Linked DNA regions of Homo sapiens: all the other regions are linked to region 5. Evidence: promoter capture Hi-C in 16 types of primary human blood cells and fetal thymus (Javierre and others, 2016). All regions are on one chromosome and are shown on one strand. The core of a region is centred on a gene start or on the middle of the fragment in contact, and the rest is flanking DNA. Distances in the headings are between cores, read along the strand shown. Region 1 overlaps TAF1 (TATA-box binding protein associated factor 1). Region 2 has its middle 17 kb from the start of CXCR3. Region 3 holds the start of CXCR3 (C-X-C motif chemokine receptor 3). Region 4 has its middle 35 kb from the start of CXCR3. Region 5 holds the start of OGT (O-linked N-acetylglucosamine (GlcNAc) transferase).

Region 1 (3,738 bases), core at 266-2,765, 94 kb before region 5:
TTTTTTCCATCAGTGATTGGGACCCAAGGTATAAGTATTTCTGACCAGGCTTGGTGGCTCACAACAGTAATCCCAGCACTTTGGGAGGCTGAGGCGGGTGGATCACTTGAGGCCAGGAGTTCAAGACCAGCCTGGCCAACATGGTGAAACCCCATCTCTACTAAAAATACAAAAATTAGCCGGGACTGGTGCTGGTGACATGCACCTGGAGCTGAGATCGTGCCACTGTACCCCAGCCTGGGCGACAGAATGAGACTCTGTCTCCAAAAAAAAAAAAAAGAAAAAGAGAAATATTTCCATATGAAAGTTAAGTCCTTCATGTCATTGAAGAGAAGAAAAACTTCCCCCGATCCTGCTTGGGTCTCTTGCTGCCATCTTGTCTCTTTCTCTTTCCATACAGACTTTTTTATTATGGAAAATATACATAATATAAAAATTTGTCATTTTAACTTTTTTTTTTTTTTTTTTTGAGACGGAGTCTCATTCTGTTTCCTAGGCTGGAGTGCAGTGGCGCGATCTTGGCTTACTGCAACCTCCGCTTCCTGGATTCAAACGTTTCTCCTGCCTCAGCCTCCAGAGTAGCTGGGATTACAGGCGTGCACCACCACGCCCGGGTAATTTTTGTATTTTTAGTAGAGACGGGGTTTCACCAAGTTGGCCAGGTTGGTCTCAAACTCCTGACCTCAGGTGATCCACCTCCCCTCAGCCTTCCAAAGTGCTGGGATTACAGGTATGAGCCATCATGCCCAGCCGTCATTTTAACTATTTTTAAGTGTACAAATCAGTGGCATTAAGTTCAATCACAGTGTAGTGCAACCATTACCACTGTGTATTTCCAGAACTTTCTTATTATTCCAAACAGAAACTCTATACCCCTTACATGGTAACTCCCCTTCTTCCCAGCTCCTGGTAACCTCTATTCTAGTTTCTATCTCTATGAAATTGCCTATTCTAGGTATGTCATATAAGTAAATCATACATTATATACAATATTCTTCCTTTTGTGTCTGGTTTGTTTTACTTACCATGTTTTCAAGGTTCATCCATGTTGTAGCATGTATCAGAGTTTCATTCTTTTTTATGACAGCCAGACTTCTTTTATGAATATGTAACGTCTCTCACTATTTTCTTTGTCTTCCAGTAATGCCTCGCTTAGCTTTAAGCTGGCTTCCACCCTGTCCAGTCTACCAAGTAAACAGGATCACATAATTATCAGATATAGTGGGCACTTTTCTGTCCTTATCTTGACCTCACCCTAGTATTTGACATCATTGACCATTCTTTCCTCACAACAGTATTGTGATTGGCTTCCATGACAATTTTTAGCTCTGGCCGGGGGAGGCCGAGATGGGTGGATCACCTGAGGTCAGGAGTTCGAGAGCAGCCTGGCCAACATGGTGAAACCCCGTCTTCACTAAAAATACAAAAAAATTAGCCAGGCGTGGTGGCACGTGGTATGAGAATGCACTCAGCGTTCTTGGGAGGCTGAGGCAGGAGAATCACTTGAACCTGGGAGGCAGAGGTTGCAGTGAGCCAAGATCATGACACGGCACTTCAGCCTGGGTGACAGAGCAAGACTCCAAAAATAAAAAAGCCCTTATTTTCCTCCCACCTCTTAAACTATTCCTTTTTAATCTCCTTTGCTGAATGTTCTGCCCACTCCTGTAACTTCAGTTGCCACCTCTTTTCCTGATGACTCTATTGTAGACAAAGCCACTTGCCAAACATTTCCTCTTGGATGTCTCAATGGAACTTAAAACATACCTCAAGCTGAATGTATTATTGTTTCCTCCTATCCTTCCTTATTCCAACTTTCTCCCTCTCTCCTTCTTTACTTGAATCACTCATTTACAATTTCCAATCTGGGTTTAATGGGGCATTAACATTACCCAGTAGCTACGTCTAGGAAACTCTTTTTTTTTAATTCTTCACTTTGAATAAGTTCCAACATCCAGTATGTCACTAAAGTTCACATTACATTTTGCCTAGTCGCCTGGTGAATGTCCCAGCCTTTACATTTATCTCCTTCTAACCTATCATCTACATTTCTGTCAGGTAGACCTTTTAAAAAACAAAAAAGCAAAATCTCTTATAAAAAGATCAAATAATCTAGAAATACATAAAATTAAAAGTTAAAGCCTCTGCCTGCCCTCCCACTCCTGTCTCCCATATTTTCATTTCCCCAGAGATAACAGCTTGGTCTATAGTCTTAGGTACTTTTTTCTATGCTTAGACAAAACGTGTTTACTTATTACGCTGCTCTCAGCACACTGCCTATAGGGTAGCCCTGTTCCGCAAGAGCAGTCAAAAAGAAAATTACATGTAGGTTTTCAAGTTTTTGTTTTATTCTGTAATTTGCTCTTTTTTGCTCATGAATGTATTCTGATCCTTTTTATTTTGAGATAATTATAGATTCAGGAAGTTGCAAGAAATGGTACAGAGTCCTGTGGGCTTCTCACTCAGCTTCCTTCAATGGCAATATCTTACATAGCTGTACTTCAGTATCAAAACCAGGAAATTTATATTGGTACATTACTTTTAAATAAATTACAAAACTTAGTTTTCACCATTTTAAAAATCTATTCATTTGTGCATAAGTGTGTGCAATTTCGTGCCATATATATGTTCCTGTAACCACCACCACAATCAAGACTTAGAACTGTTACCATAAAGGAACTCCCTGTTCTTTGTATCTGCACCCCCCACACACACATGCCCACCACCACACCCACCACTGTTCCTGTTCCACTTATCCGTTCTCCATCTCTATAGTTTTGACATTTGAGCATGTTATATAAATGGAATAGTATAATATGTAACCATTTGAGATTGACTTTTTTCGCAAAGCATAATTCCCTTGAGGTCCATCTAAATTGTTGTATCAGTAGTTCATTTTTTAAATTGTTGAGTGTTCCATTGTGTGGTTGTACCAGCGTTTGTTCAAACATTTACTCATTGAAGGACATTCAGATTTTCACTATTTTGCCATTGTGAGTAAAGCTGCTGTGAGCAATCATAGACAGGGTTTTGGATGAGTTTAATTTTTCATTTCTTTGGGATAAATGCCCAAGAATAGAATGGTATATGTTTAGTTTTACAAGACACGGCACTATTTCATTTTTTTTTTTTCCACATCAGATGTGGAAAAAAAATGTACTGGCATTGTAATAAGGCTTGAGGGAGGCACATCTCACACATGAACGTGAAAACCCAATGTCGTCACACTTACGTCATCATAAGCTTATGAACTACAAAAAGATTGTGCCACACTTTTGGAGTGTCTGTACCATTTTACATTCCCACCAGCAATGTATGTGATCCAGTTTCTCTGCAGCATTCACTGTTACCACTTTTTAAAATTTTAGCTGTTCTTCTATTGTGATTTTACTTGGCATTTTTCTTTTTTTAAATTAAAAACATTTTCTTGCTCTCGGTCTTAAAATTATTTCCTCAAATACATTGTGTTTTTCTAATGGCTAATGATGTTGGGCATCTTTTCATGTGCCATCTGTGTCTTCTCCTCCTCCCTTCTTCTTTCTCCTTCTTTCTCCCTTCTTCCTTCTTTCTTCTTCTTCTTGTTATCTTTGCTCACTGCAACCTCCCCTTCCTGGGTTCAAGCAATTCTTGTGCCTCAGCCTCCTGAGTAGCAGGGATTACAGGCACGCAACATCATGCCCGGCTAATTTTTGTATTTTTAATAGAGACAGGGTTTCATGATGTTGGCCAGGTTGGTCTCGA
Region 2 (3,720 bases), core at 365-2,864, 100 kb after region 5:
CGAGGGACTGCAGTATCTCTCCTCTGGCTCTCTGCAAGAGAAGTTGACCTTTAGGATGGGCCAGTGCTTTTGGTGCCAAAGTATTAAATGTACATGTGAGGTTCAAGCTAACTGGTATGAGGCCTCATGAAGGATTTACTTCCACCCTTTTGAGGTTGGCACTTCCATAAAGGAATGCTCCTTTCTTTCTCTAGTGGGTCCTGTGCAGGGCCTAGCTCCCTCAGCCTCCCAGCTCCCTGGGGAGAGAAACAAGGCAGATTTTTTTTTCTCACTTTTTATTGTGAGGCTGGGGCCAGAGTCTGCGTTGCACATGTTTGTGTCTGAAATGAGGAAAGCTCAGGCCCTGCCTCTCGTGGCCACATGAGTGAAGAGGCTGACTAGGAGACAGAGAATCTGGTAAGACCCAGAGCCCGGTGTGGTGGCACACGCCTGTAGTCCCAGGTACTCGGGAGGCTGAGACGGGAGGATCACTTGAGCCCAGGAATTTGAGACCAGCCAGGGCAACACAGTGGGAGCCCATCTTTATAAGAAAAAAAAATTTAAATTAGCCAGGTGTGGTGGTGTGTGCTTGTAGTCTCAGCTACTTGGGAGGCTGAGGCAGGAGAATCACTTGAGCCCAGGAGTTCGAAACTATAGCGAGCCATGATTGTGCCGCTGTACTCTAGCCTGGGTGACAGACTGAGACCCTGGTTCTTAAAAAAAAAAAGACCCAGATTTGTCAGGCCAAGCCAGACTAGGCTATGCTGTGAAACAAAAAGTACCAAACCTCAGAGCGTTAATCAAACAGAACTTTATTTTTTATTCACATTAAATGTACAACACAGGTTAGCGAAGGCTTGGCTTACTGTAGTCATCCAGGGACCCAGGCGCTGACAGTGGCCCCATCTTGGCACATTCTTTCATGCTCACTGCAGCAGTGGGATGAGAACGAGATGAATTGTACACTGTGTCTTAAAGCTTCATTGGCAAAGGCAAGCCACATGTCCACACCTAACTCTAAAGAGATTCCCTGGGACGTGCAATCCCGCCACAGGCCTGGAAGGAGGACCTATTTGTAGATCCAGCAGCTGTCAACACTCATCTCTAGTCAAGACTTGGCTTTTACATGGCTTAGAGGGAAAGGGGAGACATGGATTTCTACAAGCCCACGAGGCCAGGGCCAGAGGCAGACCATGTGTCCTAACCCCATCCTCCACCACCCTAAGGTGTGGGAGAAAACAGGATACCAGCCATGCTCAGGGCTACCTTCAAGCCCCAGAATGGAAACAGTTACACTGAAAATCATAAGAAGAAATTAAAAACCATGATTTCCTTTTGTAGCTTGTATTTATTTCCTACTGCTGCTATAAAAAATTATGACAAATTTAGTGGCTTCAAACAATACAAATTTATTACCTTATAGTTCTAGAAGTCAGAAGTCTGAGATGCGGGCTGGGTGCAGTGGCTCAAGCCTGTAATCCCAGCACTTTGGGAGGCTGAGGCGGGCGGATCACCTGAGGTCAGAAGTTCGAGACCAGCCTGGCCAACATGGTGAAACAAATAATATTTTTAGTCTCTACTAAAAATAAAAATAAAAAATTAGCCAGGCGTGGTGGCATGCACCTGTAGTCCCAGTTACTGGGGAGGCTGAGGCAGGAGAATTGCTTGAACCCAGGACGCGGAGGTTGCAGTGAGCCAAGATCCTGCCATTGCACTCTAGCCTGGGTGACAAGAGTGAAAATCTGACTCAAAAAAAAAAAAAAAAAAAGCCTGAGATGCGTCTCACTGGACTAAAATCAAAGTGTTGGCAGGCTTGGTGTTTCTTCTAGAGGCTCTAGGGAAGAGTCTATTTCCTTGCGTTTTCCAACTTCTGGATGCCTTGGCCCATGGCCCCTTCCCCCATCTTAAAACCTGGTAACGTCAGGCCAAGTCCTTCTCACACTGCCATCTGTCTGGTTCGTTCATTCTGCCTCCCTCTTCTACTTATAGGGATGCTGAGATTACACTGGGCCTACCTGGATAATCCAAGAGAATATCCCTGTCACAAGTGTGCTGATTGGCAACCTTAATTTTATCTGCAATCTTCATTCCCCTTCGACATGTAATCTCACACACACACAGGTTCTGGGTTAGGATGTGGATGTAGATATCTTTGGTAGTTGGGGAATTATTCTGCCTACCACAGAGGCCTAGGAAGAAAAGGGTCGTTATCCTAGGAGGAAAAGTGGCAATGTCCCCTGGGAGATTTCCTGTGAAAACATGATGTTGGGCTACACCCCCCACTTAAGTATTTTAAGCTTGGTTTTTTCTTTTTGTGGAGACCGGGTTTCACTATGTTGCCCAGGCTGGTCTCGATCCTCCCACCTTGGCCTCCCAAAGTGCTGGGACTACATGCATGAGCCTCTGTGCCCGGCCTAAGTATTTTAACATTAGATTGGATGTTGGCTTTTTATTTTATTTTATTATTATTATTTTTTCCAAGACAGAGTCTCGCTCTGTCACCCAAGCTGGAGTGCAGTGGTGCAATTTGGGCTCACTGCAACCTCTGCCTCCCTGGCTTCAAGCGATTCTCCTGCCTCAGCCTCCCAAGTAACTGGGACTACAGGCACGTGCCACCACATCCGGCTAATTTTTTTGTATTTTTAGTAGACAATCAGTTTATCCCTTTAGGTGCCATAGGCTGAAGCCTGTATCTTCCCTCCTTGTGTTTCCCTCTTTCTCCCCACACCTTATCAAAATGAAGCCAGCTATGTGCTTTATTGCCTCAGGAGAGGTATACAGCCTGGGTAGAAGGAGAAGAGGGAGGAGAGAGAGAGCTGTGGGTCCCCGGGCCCTGCTTCCTAGTAACACTCTGAGGAGCTGGTAATTCCCCAAAGAGGAGTGGTCCCTTGGTGTGTGCAGGGAGATGCACCGGAAACTGCAGGCCTTCCAGCTGCCTGGCAGATTTCCTCAGCCACAGAAGCAGCAATGAACAGGGTAGAATGAATGGCTTAGCAGAAACTTACAGACAACAAGACCCTCTACCCCTCTGCCCCTAGATGTCTGATACCGTGAAAGGTCCCAAGACCTCTTCTTGACATCAGGGAAGCAGGAAATGTGAGGATGACTCAGGGTGAATTTCCCAGACTCTGCCAAGACGGAGTGCAGAATTGAAATTAGATTGATATAGAAAAACAATAAAGAGAGGCAATGTTTCTTGTATACCTAGATTTATAGTCTGGGATGACTAACAATAAAGAAAGATACACCTTTCAATGTACTGAGGAGCCTGGGCATAGTAGAAGAGAAAGCAGGGGGGAGCCATGCATAGTACACGGGGAATCACAAGTTTAACATGAAGCTTTTGATTTTCTTTATCCACATCAGAGAATATGATTCTCCTTCACAGGGCAGTTAATATGCAATAGCATTATGGGAAGACTGAGAAAGAATGAAAAATAGCTGGGGTGCTCTAAAGAACATTTCCTACGTAAATTGGTGCAGCCTTTTTGGAGAGCAGCTGGGTAGTATCTAGGCAACAGGTGCATCTGCGATGATTCAGCAACCCTACCAGCACAAGTGCTCAGAAGCGTATGTTCTTAAATAGGTTCCCTCCTCTCTGCCCTTCCTCCCGAGGCTCAAGCTGGCATCTCTCTACTGGCCCGCTGTGACAGCCCCTCTTACCTGATTCCCCTGTGCCCAGTCTTGCCTTGATATGGAAAGATTGCTCAGGATACAAATCTAATCATATCATTTCCCTGT
Region 3 (4,138 bases), core at 528-3,027, 85 kb after region 5:
CCTGGAAACCAGCAGCACGGCCAGGATGTGGGCATAGCAGTAGGCCATGACCAGCAGGGGCAGCAGAAAGCCAGCCACCAGCTGCAGCACCCGCAGAGCCGTGCGGCCCACCTGTGGGAAGTTGTATTGGCAGTGGGTGGCGTTGAGGCGCTCGTCGTGGTGGGCCGACAGGAAGATGAAGTCTGGGAGGGCGAAAAGCAGGCAGAGCCCCCAGACAGCCAGGCAGGTGAGGGTCACGCGGGCCGGGGGCCCCCGGCGGTAGAGCTGGGTGGCATGAACTATGTTCAGGTAGCGGTCAAAGCTGATGCAGGCCAGCAGGAGGGCTCCTGCGTAGAAGTTGATGTTGAAGAGGGCACCTGCCACTTTGCAGAGGCCAGAGCCAAAGACCCACTGGACGGCAGCGTCCACTGCCCAGAGCGGCAGTGTCAGCACCAGCAGCGTGTCTGCTACAGCTAGGTGGAGCAGGAAGGTGTCGGTGCTGCTCAGGGCTGTCCGCCGGCTCAGCAGCACGGCTGCCACCGCGCCGTTGCCCAGCAGCCCCAGCAGAAAGAGGAGGCTGTAGAGGGCTGGCAGGAAGGCCCGGTCGAAGTTCAGGCTGAAGTCCTGTGGGCAGGGCGGGGAGGTACAGCACGAGTCACTCTCGTTTTCTCCATAGTCATAGGAAGAGCTGAAGTTCTCCAGGAGGGCGGCAACCTCGGCGTCATTTAGCACTTGGTGGTCACTCACCTGTGAGGGCGGGAACGGGGAGGAAGGGGCTGTGTAAAGGCCTGGCAGGAACTCTTTTGTGATTGAGTCTGATTTAGTCTGTGATTTACTCTGAGCAGCTCCTCCTATAACTGTCCCCGCCAGTCTTCCAGGGCCGTACTTCCTCAACTCCATCCGCTCAGCCTGGGCTCTGGGATAGTGACTTCCCTTCTCAAAGGCTGCTTCTCTCGCATTCTTCTGCGTGATCCCATCGGCCCAGGGACCCCTGGGCAGGAAGAAGAGCGTCCCTCCAGTGCCCAGAGCCCTCTCTGCCCACTGTCCTCTCTCTCCCTGCTCTCCCTTCAGGCTTGCCTTGCGTCCTCAGTGCCCCACCCCCAACACATAGTTCAACCACCTTCCTCCCCAGCGCCTCTCCACAATCCCCTTTTCCAGTCACTAACCCTCCTCTTCCCTCCTTGGCCCTTGTCCGGGGACCCCAACTTCCTGCGCCCCCCCCCACCGTGTGGCCTCTCTACAAGTCACCACGCCCCCCAAATGCATGCAGTCTGCCCAGTCCTTCCCCCTCCCTACACTGAGGCTTGCACGGCCATTTAGCTGCCCACAAGGGGATCCCCCACTTAGCTTGAGAAGGAATCTTCTTTATCCCCTCACCCCCAGCACTATGGACCTGCAGGTCTCCCCAGTACCAATTTAGTCCAGCACGCCAAGAGTCAAAGTTCCAAGTCTCCTGAAGGGAGCCTTCGAGTCTACTTGCCCCCCGCCCCCCCCATTTTGCAGACGAGACACCGAAGCCAGAGAGGAGAGGAGAGGCACCCAGGGTCAGTGGCCAAGCTGGGTTCCCAATTCCCCAGTGCTGTTTCTGCCACAACCCATGCGGCCTCCAGCTACTCACCCAACCCTGTGGTGACCCTGGGCTGTGGGCCAGCCCTGGCATTCCCCTGATGCCCCGGGTTTTCCACTTCGAATTCTGGCCTGGCCTGGCTGGGCAGCAGCACTTACCTCAAGGACCATGGCTGGGCTGGTGCTCTGGCTGCTGGGTGGTGTGCTGCCTGCCCCTCTGCTTTGGTGCTTGTGGTTGGAAACCTGCAGTCACAGAGGAAGTGGGAGTTTCAGGCAGTTCTCAGCAGCAGCCTCTTCCAGGGAGTTACCTCTACCAGACCTCCCTAAACCTCAGGCCACAGAGTTTCCGTGACTGGGTGAAACCTCTCTGGAGGAGCTGGCTACAAGCTTGGGACCAGAAAAGCTGGGCAGAGGATGACTGGCTGGGGGCAGGTCCTTTGAGAAGAGAGGTCTGAAGAGGAAGCAATGCAGCTGAGAAGTGAAGGGCAACCCTACTGCCTGCACTGGTAGGGTCAGTGCTCCATAGATTGGAACTCATCTGTCCTGGCCTTGAGTTGATCTTTGCATGATTGTAAAGGCTGGGTAGAGAAATAAGTCTGCAGAGGAGATCCACCTTCTTAAAAATTTCAGCTAGGTGCAGTGGCTCATTCCTGTAATCCCAGCTACTGGGGAGGCTGAGGCAAGAGGATCACTTAAGGCCAAGAGTTTGAGACCAGCCTGGGCAGCATAGCGAGGCTCCATCTCTACCAAAAATAAAAAAAGCCAGCCGGGCATGGTGGCATGTGCCTGTAGTCCTAACTACTTGGAAGCCTGAGACAGGAGGATTGCTTGAGCCCGGGAGTTCAAGTCTGCCTTGAGATATAATTGTACCACTGCACTCCAGCCTGGTGACAGAGTGAGGCCCTGTCTCTTAAAAAGGGAATTAAAATATTTTTTTAAAAAGCCGTTACACTAAATCTAGCTTTTTACCACCACCTCTCCCTGCTAATCAGTGGGGAAAAAGAAAGGGAACTACCAGTAATGAACTTGCTATGTGATAGACATTGCTTTAGGTGCTTTCTCCGACACTGCCTTATTTCAACCACACAACTCACTTGTGACGTGCGGGGTTATCTGCATGGATGATTCAGAAAGGGGACAGGCCTTCGCCAGACACGGCAATTAAAGGTGGGCGTGAGGATTGATCCCACGGCTGTCTGATTCTCCTTTTCCTACTCATGAACACTGTCTTCAGTTTCTTTTAAGTGAATAAGCTATGATATATTCATGCAGTTAAAAACAAATGAACTAAAGCTACACATTTGAACATGGATGCATCTAGAAAAGCCAACGATCACATGGTAGAAGAAGCAAGTTACAGAATGCCATGTATAGTTTGATGCCACTTACATAAACTCTAAAAACCACCACAAAATCAATACCATGTTGTTTTGGATAACACTGTTGGTTCTCGAGGTTTAAAACAGGGACAGGAGATACCACAAATTCATAAAAGCAGTTGCTTCTCGGGCAAGAAGGAGGATGGGGTTGGGGAGGAGGCCATAGGAACTTCTTGATCTTAAGGAAAAGCTGTAAGGCAGCCTTGGTACAGCACATCAGTCACTTTATGGCAGAGAATGGTGAACAATTCCTCTCCCCACCTGCCCTCAGCTCTCCCCTTTGCCCTCTTCTCCCCTCCCTGTCGCCCTCTTCTCATTACCAGTGGGCAAGGCTGCCCGTAATTTGCTTCTCCCAAGCAGTTTCCTCTTTCTCTCTCTCCCCTAGTTGGAAAGCAGGGGTGGAGGGAGAGAGAGAAAGAAGAGAGAAGAGAGAAGAGAGAGAGAGAGAAAAGCAAGTGCTAGCCCATGGTCTTGGGGCCAGTTTTCAGCCAGACTGCCCCACCAAAGCCTCCAGGCTAGGGCCTGGAATTAAATTTACACCCACATGAGGCATACTTGCAAGGCATCAAGGCCCTTCCCCTCCTGTGGACAGATGTGACTCTCCTTGCTCTAAACAGCTTGTCACCTGCAGGGTTCAGGCCAGAGGGAACTGAGGGCCTGGCAGAGGTCAGGAGCAGTGCCAGTGGAGGGAGCAGGAAGGATTCCAGAAACCAGGCCAGTTAGGATGAGCAGGACTTGGCCAGTAGCTACCTATGGGGGTGGAAAAGGGTTGGGAGCTGGGACCACAGTCTCCCAGTGCTGACCTGTGAAGAGGTTTGAGTTCCATGGGCTTCTGCAAATGAGAAAATTGACCATGGAAAGCCACATTTGTTCCATTTAAAGGTCTGTCTTATATTCAGCAATCATGTTATTTGTCCCCTTTTTTTGGTATCAAAAGGGCCTTTTCTTTATGAAATGATGGGGAAAATAGATGGTAGTTTTGGAAACATCTTGTGATGGCAGAAGTTGACAACCCAATGTGGGTCCTCTAAATCAGCAGTCCCCAGCCTTTTTGGCACCAGGGACCGGTTTCGTGGAAGACAATTTTTCCACGGACTGGAGTGGGGATGGTTTCGGGATGAAACTGTTCCACCTCAGATCATCAGGCATTAGATTCTCATAAACAATGCACAACCTAGATCCCTCCCACGTGCAGTTCACAACAGGATTTGTGC
Region 4 (4,190 bases), core at 605-3,104, 120 kb after region 5:
TGGTACTTATCATGAAAATTGCTATTTATCTCTAGGCAGAGGGGTGGCTCCCAGAACCAGTAATAGTTTTGTGTGTGTGTGTGTGTGTGTGTGTGTGTGTGTGTGTGTGTGTTTTGGAGACGGGGTCTCACTTTGTCATCCAGTCTAGAGTGCAGTGGTGATCTCGGCTCACTGCCAGGCTCTACCTTCCAGGCTCAAGCGATCCTCCCACCTCAGCCCCACAAGTGGCTGGGACTACAGGCATGTGGCACCACACCTGTCTAATTTTTTTGTATTTTTCATAGAGACAGGGTTTTGCCATGTTGGCCAGGCTGGTCTTGAACTCCTGAGCTCAAGCGATCTGCCCGCCTTGGCCTCCCAGACAGGCATGAGCCACTGAGCCTGGCCCCAGAGAATAGTTTTTATTTCATTTCATCAATTGATGAAATAAATAATCCCAACATTCGTCCTACTTGACCCTATTAATGCCATAAACCAGTGTGGAGCCTTCACTCAAGCCACCCTCAGGGAGTACAAGGCTAGAAACAAAAGCAGGGGAAACTCATCCTGGGATGGAGGTTGACTTTTTAGGAAAATGCCTCTGGCTTTATTCACAACAATAAGGCCCCAAAGGGCTGCACAGTCCAGCCTGCTATCTCTCTGTTTGTCAGGGCCCCGTGCTTTGTGTAGCACATCAGTGGTCTTAGTTGGGCCTGAGGAGAAGAAACAGGAAGAAAAGAGTTGCTGGGGAAAGCAGCTGGCAAGGTTGGCGTTAGGATGGAAGTGCCAAACAGGCAAAGGAGATGCAGCCCATCAGAAGGATTGCCAACACTGCTTCCATTTTAATTGGCACAAATGGCCCTTTCAATCCCAGCAGCTAACAGTAGAGAAGAGGAGAAACTCAAAAGGCATGAGATCACTAGCTGCCTCCACTTGCATCCCAGCAAACAGCTTAAAACGGCACTGCCCTCACCTGGTCAAATTCATGTATTACATTGAAGGCACATGTTTTTAGATTTTTTTTTTGGTCATTTCTTTTTCTCCAGTTCTTGGTCCTCCACCTCTGAGAATAAGTGGATGGGGAGGTGACAAATCTCCCCTGAGAAAATGTACCAAGTGCATGGGATTCCAGCACAAAGTCACAAACTGTGAATGAAAACTTACCACCCAAATATAAAATACTTACCAAAACATCGAAATTAATATCCCAATTATGTAAGCATCACTCCTATGATGTTTAGTGAAATCTATGAGAATATGAAAATAAAACTATTTTTATCAATAAACTGATATTACTACTCTCAAAGAGATCTGCTATAAATAGAGAAAATAATTTTGGTTATCCTTCTGGTTATAAAATACTTGACTGTTTAATGCAATGTTACTTCCCTTACCACTATTTTTTCTCTGCTTATGGCAGTAAGTAACATACAGAAAGAAAACATCACAATCTATGTGCGTAGTTTAATAAATAATTATCAAGTGCACCTGTATGGGAACTCCACTAGGCAGTCCCCCAGTAGGGACTCTGTGTGGTGGCTCCGACTCCACATTTCCCTTCTGCACTGCCCTAGCAGAGGTTCTCCACAATGCTCCCCCTGCAGCAAACTTTTGCCTGAGCATCCAGGCGTTTCCATACATCTTCTGAAATCTAGGCAGAGGTTCCCAAACCTCAATTCTTGACTTCTGTGTAGCCGCAGGCTCAATACCTCATGGAAGCTGCCAAGACTTGGGGCTTCCACCTTCTAAGGCCACAGCTTGAGCTCTGCATTGGCCCCTTTCAGCCATGGCTGGAGTGGCTGGGCACCAAGTTCCTAGGCTGCACACTGCATGGGAACCCTGGGCCCAGCCCACAAAACCACTTTTTCCTCTTGGGCCCCTGGGCCTGTGATGGGAGGGGCTGCCTTGAAGTTCTCTGACATGGCCTGGAGACATTTTCCCCAGGGTCTTGGGGATTAACATTAGTCTCCTTGCTCTTTATGCAAATTTCTGCAGCCGGCTTGAATTTCTCCTCAAAAAAAGGAGTTTTTCTTTTCTACTTAACTGTCAGGCTGCAAATTTTCTGAACTTTTATGCTGTTTCTCTTTTATTTGTTTATTTATTTATTTTTATTATACTTTAAGTTCTAGGGTACATGTGCACAACATACAGGTTTGTTACATATATATACATGTGCCATGTTGGTGTGCTACACCCATTAACTCATCATTTACATTAGTTATATCTCCTAATGCTATGCCTCCCCCCTTCCCCCACCCCAAGACAGGCCCTGGTGTGTGATGTTCCCCACCCTGTATTCAAGTGTTCTCATTTTTCAATTCCCACCTATGGGTGAGAACATGTGGTGTTTGGTTTTCTGTCCTTACTATAGTTTGCTCAGAATGATGGTTTCCAGCTTCATCCATGTCTCTACAAAGGACATGAATGCATCCTTTTTTATGGCTACATAGTATTCCATGGTGTATATGTGCCACATTTCCTTAATCCAGTCTATCATTGATGGACACTTGGGTTGGTTCCAAGTCTTTGTTATTGTGAATAGTGCCGTAATAAACATATGTCAGCATGTGTCTTTATAGAAGCATGATTTATAATCCTTTGGATATATACCCAGTAATGGGATGGCTGGGTCAAATGGTATTTCTAGTTCTAGATCCCTGAGGAATCGCCACACTGTCTTCCACATGTTTGAACTAGTTTACAGTCTCACCAACAGCATAAAAGTGTTCCTATTTCTCCACATCCTCTCCAGCACCTGTTGCTTCCTGACTTTTTAATGATTGCCATTCTGACTGGTGTGAGATGGTATCTCATTGTAGTTTTGATTTGCATTTCTCTGATGGCCAGTGATGATGAGCATTTTTTCATGTGTCTGTTAGCTGCATAAATGTCTTCTTTTGAGAAGTGACTGTTCATATCCTTCACCCAGTTTTTGATGGGGTTTTTTGATTTTTTCTTGTAAATTTGTTTAAGTTCTTTGTAGATTGTGGATATTAGCCCTTTATCAGATGGGTAGATTGTAAAAATTTTCTCACATTCTGTAGGTTGCCTGTTCACTCTGATGGTAGTTTCTTTTGCTGTGCAGAAGCTCTTTAGTTTAATTAGATACCATTTGTCAATTTTGGCTTTTATTGCCATTGCTTTTGGTGTTTTAGTCGTGAAGTCCTCACCCATGCCTATGTCCTGAATGGTATTACCTAGGTTTTCTTCTAGGGTTTTTATCGTTTTTGGTCTAATATTTAAGTCTTTAATCCATCTTGAATTAATTTTTGTATAAGGTGTAAGCAAGGGATCCAGTTTCAGCTTTCTCCATATGGCTAGCCAGTTTTCCCAGCACTATTTATTAAATAGGGAATCCTTTCCCCATTTCTTGTTTTTGTCAGGTTTGTTAAAGATCAAATTGTTGTAGATGTGTGGTATTATTTCTGAAGGCTCTGTTCTGTTCCATTGGTCTGTATCTCTGTTTTGGTACCAGTACCATGCTGTTTTGGTTACTGTAGCCTTGTAGTATAGTTTGAAGTCAGGTAGTGTGATGTCTCCAGCTTTGTTCTTTTGGCTTAGGATTGTCTTGGCAATGTGGGCTCTTTTTTGGTTCCATATGAACTTTAAAATAGTTTTTTCCAATTCTGTGAAGTCATTGGTAGCTTGATGGGGATGGCATTGAATCTATAAATTACCTTGGGCAGTATGGCCATTTTCACGATATCGATTCTTCCTATCCATGAGCATGGAATGTTCTTCCATTTGTTTGTATCCTCTTTTATTTCATTGAGCAGTGGTTTGTAGTTCTCCTTGAAGAGATCCTTCACATCCCTTGTAAGTTGGATTCCTAGGTATTTTATTCTCTTTGAAGCAATTGTGAATGGGAATTCACTCATGATTTGGCTCTCTGTGTGTTCTTGGTGTATAGAAATGCTTGTAATTTTTGCACATTGATTTTGTGTCCTGAGACTTTGCTGAAGTTGCTTATGAGCATAAGGAGATTTTGGGCTCAGACGATGGGGTTTTCTAAATATACAGTCATGTCATCTGCAAACAGGGACAATTTGACTTCCTCTTTTCCTAACTGAATGCCCTTTATTTCTTTCTCCTGCCTGATTGCCCTGGCCAGAACTTCCAACACTATGTTGAATAGGAGTGGTGAGAGAGGGCATCCCTGTCTTGTGCCAGTTTTCAAAGGGAATGCTTCAAGTTGCTGTTTCCCTTTTAAA
Region 5 (3,942 bases), core at 904-3,403:
TTCTTTGGCTTCATTTAACCTTTGGAGCCATTTTTTTTCAGCAGCAGTGCAACAGCAGCCACCAGCCCGGGTCTCATCCAGCGCTGGTGCTACTGCTGTGAAATGTGTGTTGTTCTGAGCAGCTGTATTTGTGATACTTTGTTACACAGCAGCAAAAAAAGTAATGCAACATCAGTGGTGTTACTGGGTGACAAAGTTTGGGATTGGGGTTGAAGACCCAGCTGATTTAATTATAATTGGTTCTAAATTTAAAATTGCACATAAAAAAAACCCAGAAATCAATGTGAACAACAATAAAAAACATACAAAAGCACTTCCTTCAATGTCTAGATCAAGGCTTCTTTCTCACCCCCTCCAACCTTACCTGTTTCCTCCCTAGATATTCATAGAGAGTAATATATTTTATCATCTAAATAGTCTTCTGTATTGCTCTCTAGTAGCTTTTTGTGTCTACCTAACTAGGCTTCAGATTCCTTGAGGGCGAGGATTTCTGTTCATTTTTGTGCCCCCCACAGTGCCTTGCACATAGAGACTCTAGTAAATGTTACTTATTGGCTGAAGAATTAGGAACATGACCTGCATTTAACAACAAAAAGAGTTTTTGTTAATTAGCTAGCACCCGCTCATCAGCAAGGCCTAAACATCTGCCAGTGGAATCTGAGAAGTCTCTTCTAAAAGTTGAAAAGCTGAGTTTACTCATTACAGATAGGGAACTTGTAGTAGGTGTGTGTGTGCGGGGGGGAGGTTTTACCAGTTAAATCAAATTACAAGAGGTTGGTGCTCAATTTTCAGGAGAGTTTGTGTAGTGATTTTTGTCTTTTTCACTGCATGATGTGACTCTTGATTATGGGATGGAAGAAATTAGCATTATGAATTTTCTCTGTGCCATTTCCATAATTAATTGTTTGTTGACTGTTTTGAAGAAATTTAAGCAGAATTTGAGGACTTAGTTTTAAAAAATGTAGTGAAGGGGCTAGGTAGCAAAAACTTTTTGAAGAAATTCATTGACCTGCTTTCTTAGATCAAGGACTTTTTGAAATAAAAAGGCTCTCAGAGATCCAACTTGTAGCCTCCAGTGGCTTGTAATACTTTCTTGCTGATGTGGCAAGCTACCTTAAGTCGTTTCTAGAACAAGAGGTGAAGTATAAATACCAATGTGACAAAATGTCTGAACAGTAGACTTGAAACTGCAGGAAGATCGTAAGAACCGATTTGTTCAAGGAAGTAGAGGCAATTCATGACTCAATCTAGACGTGTGGTTTAGGCAGATGGCAAGTGAATTCATTTATCATTGTTGATCTGCTTTGAGCTCAGTGGAATCGCCGACTGTGACAATGTGCAGAGCTAGCTGGTGGAAATGAAGTCACAACTCGAGGAGAGTCATGGATTTTGACGAACGTGAATCACCTTTAACATTTTTATGGCTGCCTTCGGAGTGCAAACGCCCAGCATGTCCCTGAGTTATTAAACATTTGCCCTATCACCGTGGGCAGGAGTATTCTGAATACCAAAACGATTTTGAAATTTCAGGCTATACGGCCAACATTGAAGGTGTCTGCATTCAACTGGCCCTGTGAAAGCTTCAGTCTTTTTCATCGAAGTGCTGAAATCGATGGCCGAGTCACAATGAAGACGGGCTCAAATCGGAACCCTCTCGCTCCTCGTTTTGAGCAGCTGTCTTTGAGAGGCAATCTTCTGAATTGACTGGCTCAGAATTGATCCGTGAGAGTCGTAACCATCCGTTTTTGTACGAATACAGTTGATAAACTTTTTTAGACGCCTTTGGCATTTATGTTTAAAACGACACCACCTGCTAAGTAACAAACACTCTTCTTAATCGCGGTGGCAAAAACGTATCCGTCCCGTGTGTGTTTGTTTTTACCCTTCCGCTACACTCTTAAGAAACTTGGCCGCTTCCGCCCCAGAGAGTGCCCTAACCACGAGTCGGGTTGACAGGGCTGCTCGCATGCGCGGTCTCCACCGTGGTGTTTGTCGCAATGGGCGCTGCGCGGAGGACTACATGGAATCTCGACTTTGCAGCTTGAAGTCATTTTGTTGGCGGCGCTGGTTACCGGCTACCTCCGCGCGGGCACTTGATTGTAACAGAAAGTAGTTCCGGCCCATGTTGTTTCGGCCGAGGAGCCGTCGCCGCCATTTCAAGACCGTACTAGGTAGATGGTCAATTAGAGTTCCCAGGGTTTGAAGCCTGTAACTGCTGCCGCCGCTCAAGCCCTCCAGAGCATTGCTACGGCTGCTGCCCTTGTACTACTACCTCCAAATACGTTCTTGCTGGTAGTGGCGGCAGCAGGACCAATTACCTCTTTTTTGCTCTCCCTCGAGAAGCTCCAGATGGCGTCTTCCGTGGGCAACGTGGCCGACAGCACAGGTACCGGTGTCCCGTTCTACCTTGGCAGATGCCCCCTTGGGGTCTCGCGCCGTCCTCTACCTTGTATCACTCCTTCCCTCCCTTCCCTCGAACCATCCCCATTACATCAGTGACATTGCTAAGCTTTTCGTGGTCTACTGGCATCTGATCACATCGGGTTTTCCGCTGTTGTCCGCTTCCCGAACATTTCCTCCTCCTCCCTTGCTTGCTTTTTGCTGCCTTTCTTGCTTTGTTTTTATTTCGTAAATGTTCTAGCATTCCACTCTCTCCAGGCGCTTTTATCACACGTGCGCGCTTAGAATGTCGTGGAATGGACTGCATTGGAATCCCTGCCCTTTCACTCCTTTGCAGCGGTTTTCTCCCCTAATTCCAGCTCATCGCCTCTCCTTTTTCCCCTCCATCTCCTCCTTCATCTCCCCCCCCAGTCTTTTCCCCTTAGCCAGATTTGGTCCTTCTCTGCCAATCTAGGGCGGGGGTGCCGTTCCGATGTAATCATATCCTCACTTTGCATCACCCGAGGACGATCAAAAGCTCGTCGATGGTGCCACAAGTCACCTCGAGAAGAGGGGACATTGAGCAGCACCCTGCTAGGCAGTGCCTTTCTGGTGTTCTTTCGGTTGAGCGGTCCCGGTTTAGATTGGAAATTTCCAGGGGTTTCCTTTGCCATCGCCCAATTCCACCGCTGCCCTCAGCCTGGATTTCCCACCCTGTCCGCGGGGAACCACACCCTTCCCTTCGCGAGGTTGCCAGCCCTGTTCACTTCCTATCCTTGGGGGAGAAACCACCCCGATGCTGCTGCTTTGGCGTTGACCACCCTGCCCGCCCAATTCTCGCTTTGTGTTACTTTCTCGATGTATTCCTCCGCCGCCGCCTCTGGGTCTGCCATCCCCATTCTTCAGCCCAGTATCTCTTTATTCACAGGGTGTAATATTCTTTTAAGTTTCCATCCCTGCTTGAAGAGTTTGTAAAGCAACTGGAGTGTAGCTGCACAAGTACAAGGCGGTTGCCCTTTTAGACACTTCAGTCGCGAGCATTTGGTACTGAAAATACGAAAACAACCAAATTGTAGGAGTGTCCTTCAGCTGCCTTTCCATATTGAGGCGATTTGGGCGGAAGGGGGTGGGGAATTGGGCTGCGCTTCTGAGGTTTCCCGCGAGGTTATTTTTTGGTTGTTTCTCAGTTGAGATGTGTGGAGGGTTTTAGCTACTGTTCCTGGAAGTTGTGCTGTAAGTAGTAGGTGAATCGTCAATAGTGTCTTATCCGTAATTGTAGGGAGTGGGATTAATAATTAGTCCGTGCTCCTCTCCCCACGTCTCCACCGTGATTTTCAAAGGTTTAAGATTCTGTACTGGATTCTGTACTAGCTTGCCCTTTTTAATGTGTTATTTATTTGAGAAAGCTGTCGTTTCAAGTGTTAAAATAGCAGATAAGCGGCATTGAAAAGTGACAAAGTAATGTGTGAAAACAAGGAGCTAGGAAGTTCTAGAGACTTAGCTAAAATGTAATTTTAGTTTCTATTAAAGATATAACCTCTCCCAGATGTGGATGCAAGTCTC

The links. Contacts are between HindIII fragments. The CHiCAGO score rates a contact against its expected background, and 5 or more counts as called.
Region 1: a fragment that was not itself captured here is called in contact with the fragment with the promoter of OGT in region 5 in 14 of 17 cell types (megakaryocytes, total B cells, erythroblasts and 11 more); the score reaches 13.3 in megakaryocytes.
Region 2: a contact is called between a fragment that was not itself captured here and the fragment with the promoter of OGT in region 5, in 1 of 17 cell types (naive CD8 T cells). The highest score is 6.1, in naive CD8 T cells.
Region 3: the fragment with the promoter of CXCR3 here is called in contact with the fragment with the promoter of OGT in region 5 in 4 of 17 cell types (naive CD8 T cells, non-activated CD4 T cells, activated CD4 T cells and 1 more); the score reaches 10.6 in naive CD8 T cells.
Region 4: a fragment that was not itself captured here is called in contact with the fragment with the promoter of OGT in region 5 in 7 of 17 cell types (total CD8 T cells, activated CD4 T cells, total B cells and 4 more); the score reaches 7.4 in total CD8 T cells.

What each region holds. Positions count from the first base shown.
Region 1 is chrX:71,437,385-71,441,122 of GRCh38, forward strand. The region is part of intron 32 of TAF1 (TATA-box binding protein associated factor 1); the gene reads left to right. It also overlaps the pseudogene LOC124905281. Among named protein-coding and RNA genes, the nearest start is that of TAF1, 73 kb to the left of the region's middle. The HindIII fragment of the contact is 3,445 bases long and covers 1-3,238 here.
Region 2 is chrX:71,633,571-71,637,290 of GRCh38, forward strand. No RefSeq gene overlaps it. Among named protein-coding and RNA genes, the nearest start is that of CXCR3, 17 kb to the left of the region's middle. The HindIII fragment of the contact is 1,319 bases long and covers 956-2,274 here.
Region 3 is chrX:71,616,734-71,620,871 of GRCh38, forward strand. CXCR3 (C-X-C motif chemokine receptor 3) reads right to left here and starts at 1,778. Exons shown (of 2, transcript NM_001504.2): 1 at 1,705-1,778; 2 at 1-726. The coding sequence starts at 1,716. The HindIII fragment of the contact is 3,713 bases long and covers 1-1,930 here.
Region 4 is chrX:71,651,714-71,655,903 of GRCh38, forward strand. No RefSeq gene overlaps it. Among named protein-coding and RNA genes, the nearest start is that of CXCR3, 35 kb to the left of the region's middle. The HindIII fragment of the contact is 6,979 bases long and covers 1-4,190 here.
Region 5 is chrX:71,530,951-71,534,892 of GRCh38, forward strand. OGT (O-linked N-acetylglucosamine (GlcNAc) transferase) reads left to right here and starts at 2,154. Exons shown (of 22, transcript NM_181672.3): 1 at 2,154-2,386. The coding sequence starts at 2,350. RefSeq lists enhancers at 1,205-2,404, 1,905-2,244, 2,070-2,728. The HindIII fragment of the contact is 929 bases long and covers 1,579-2,507 here.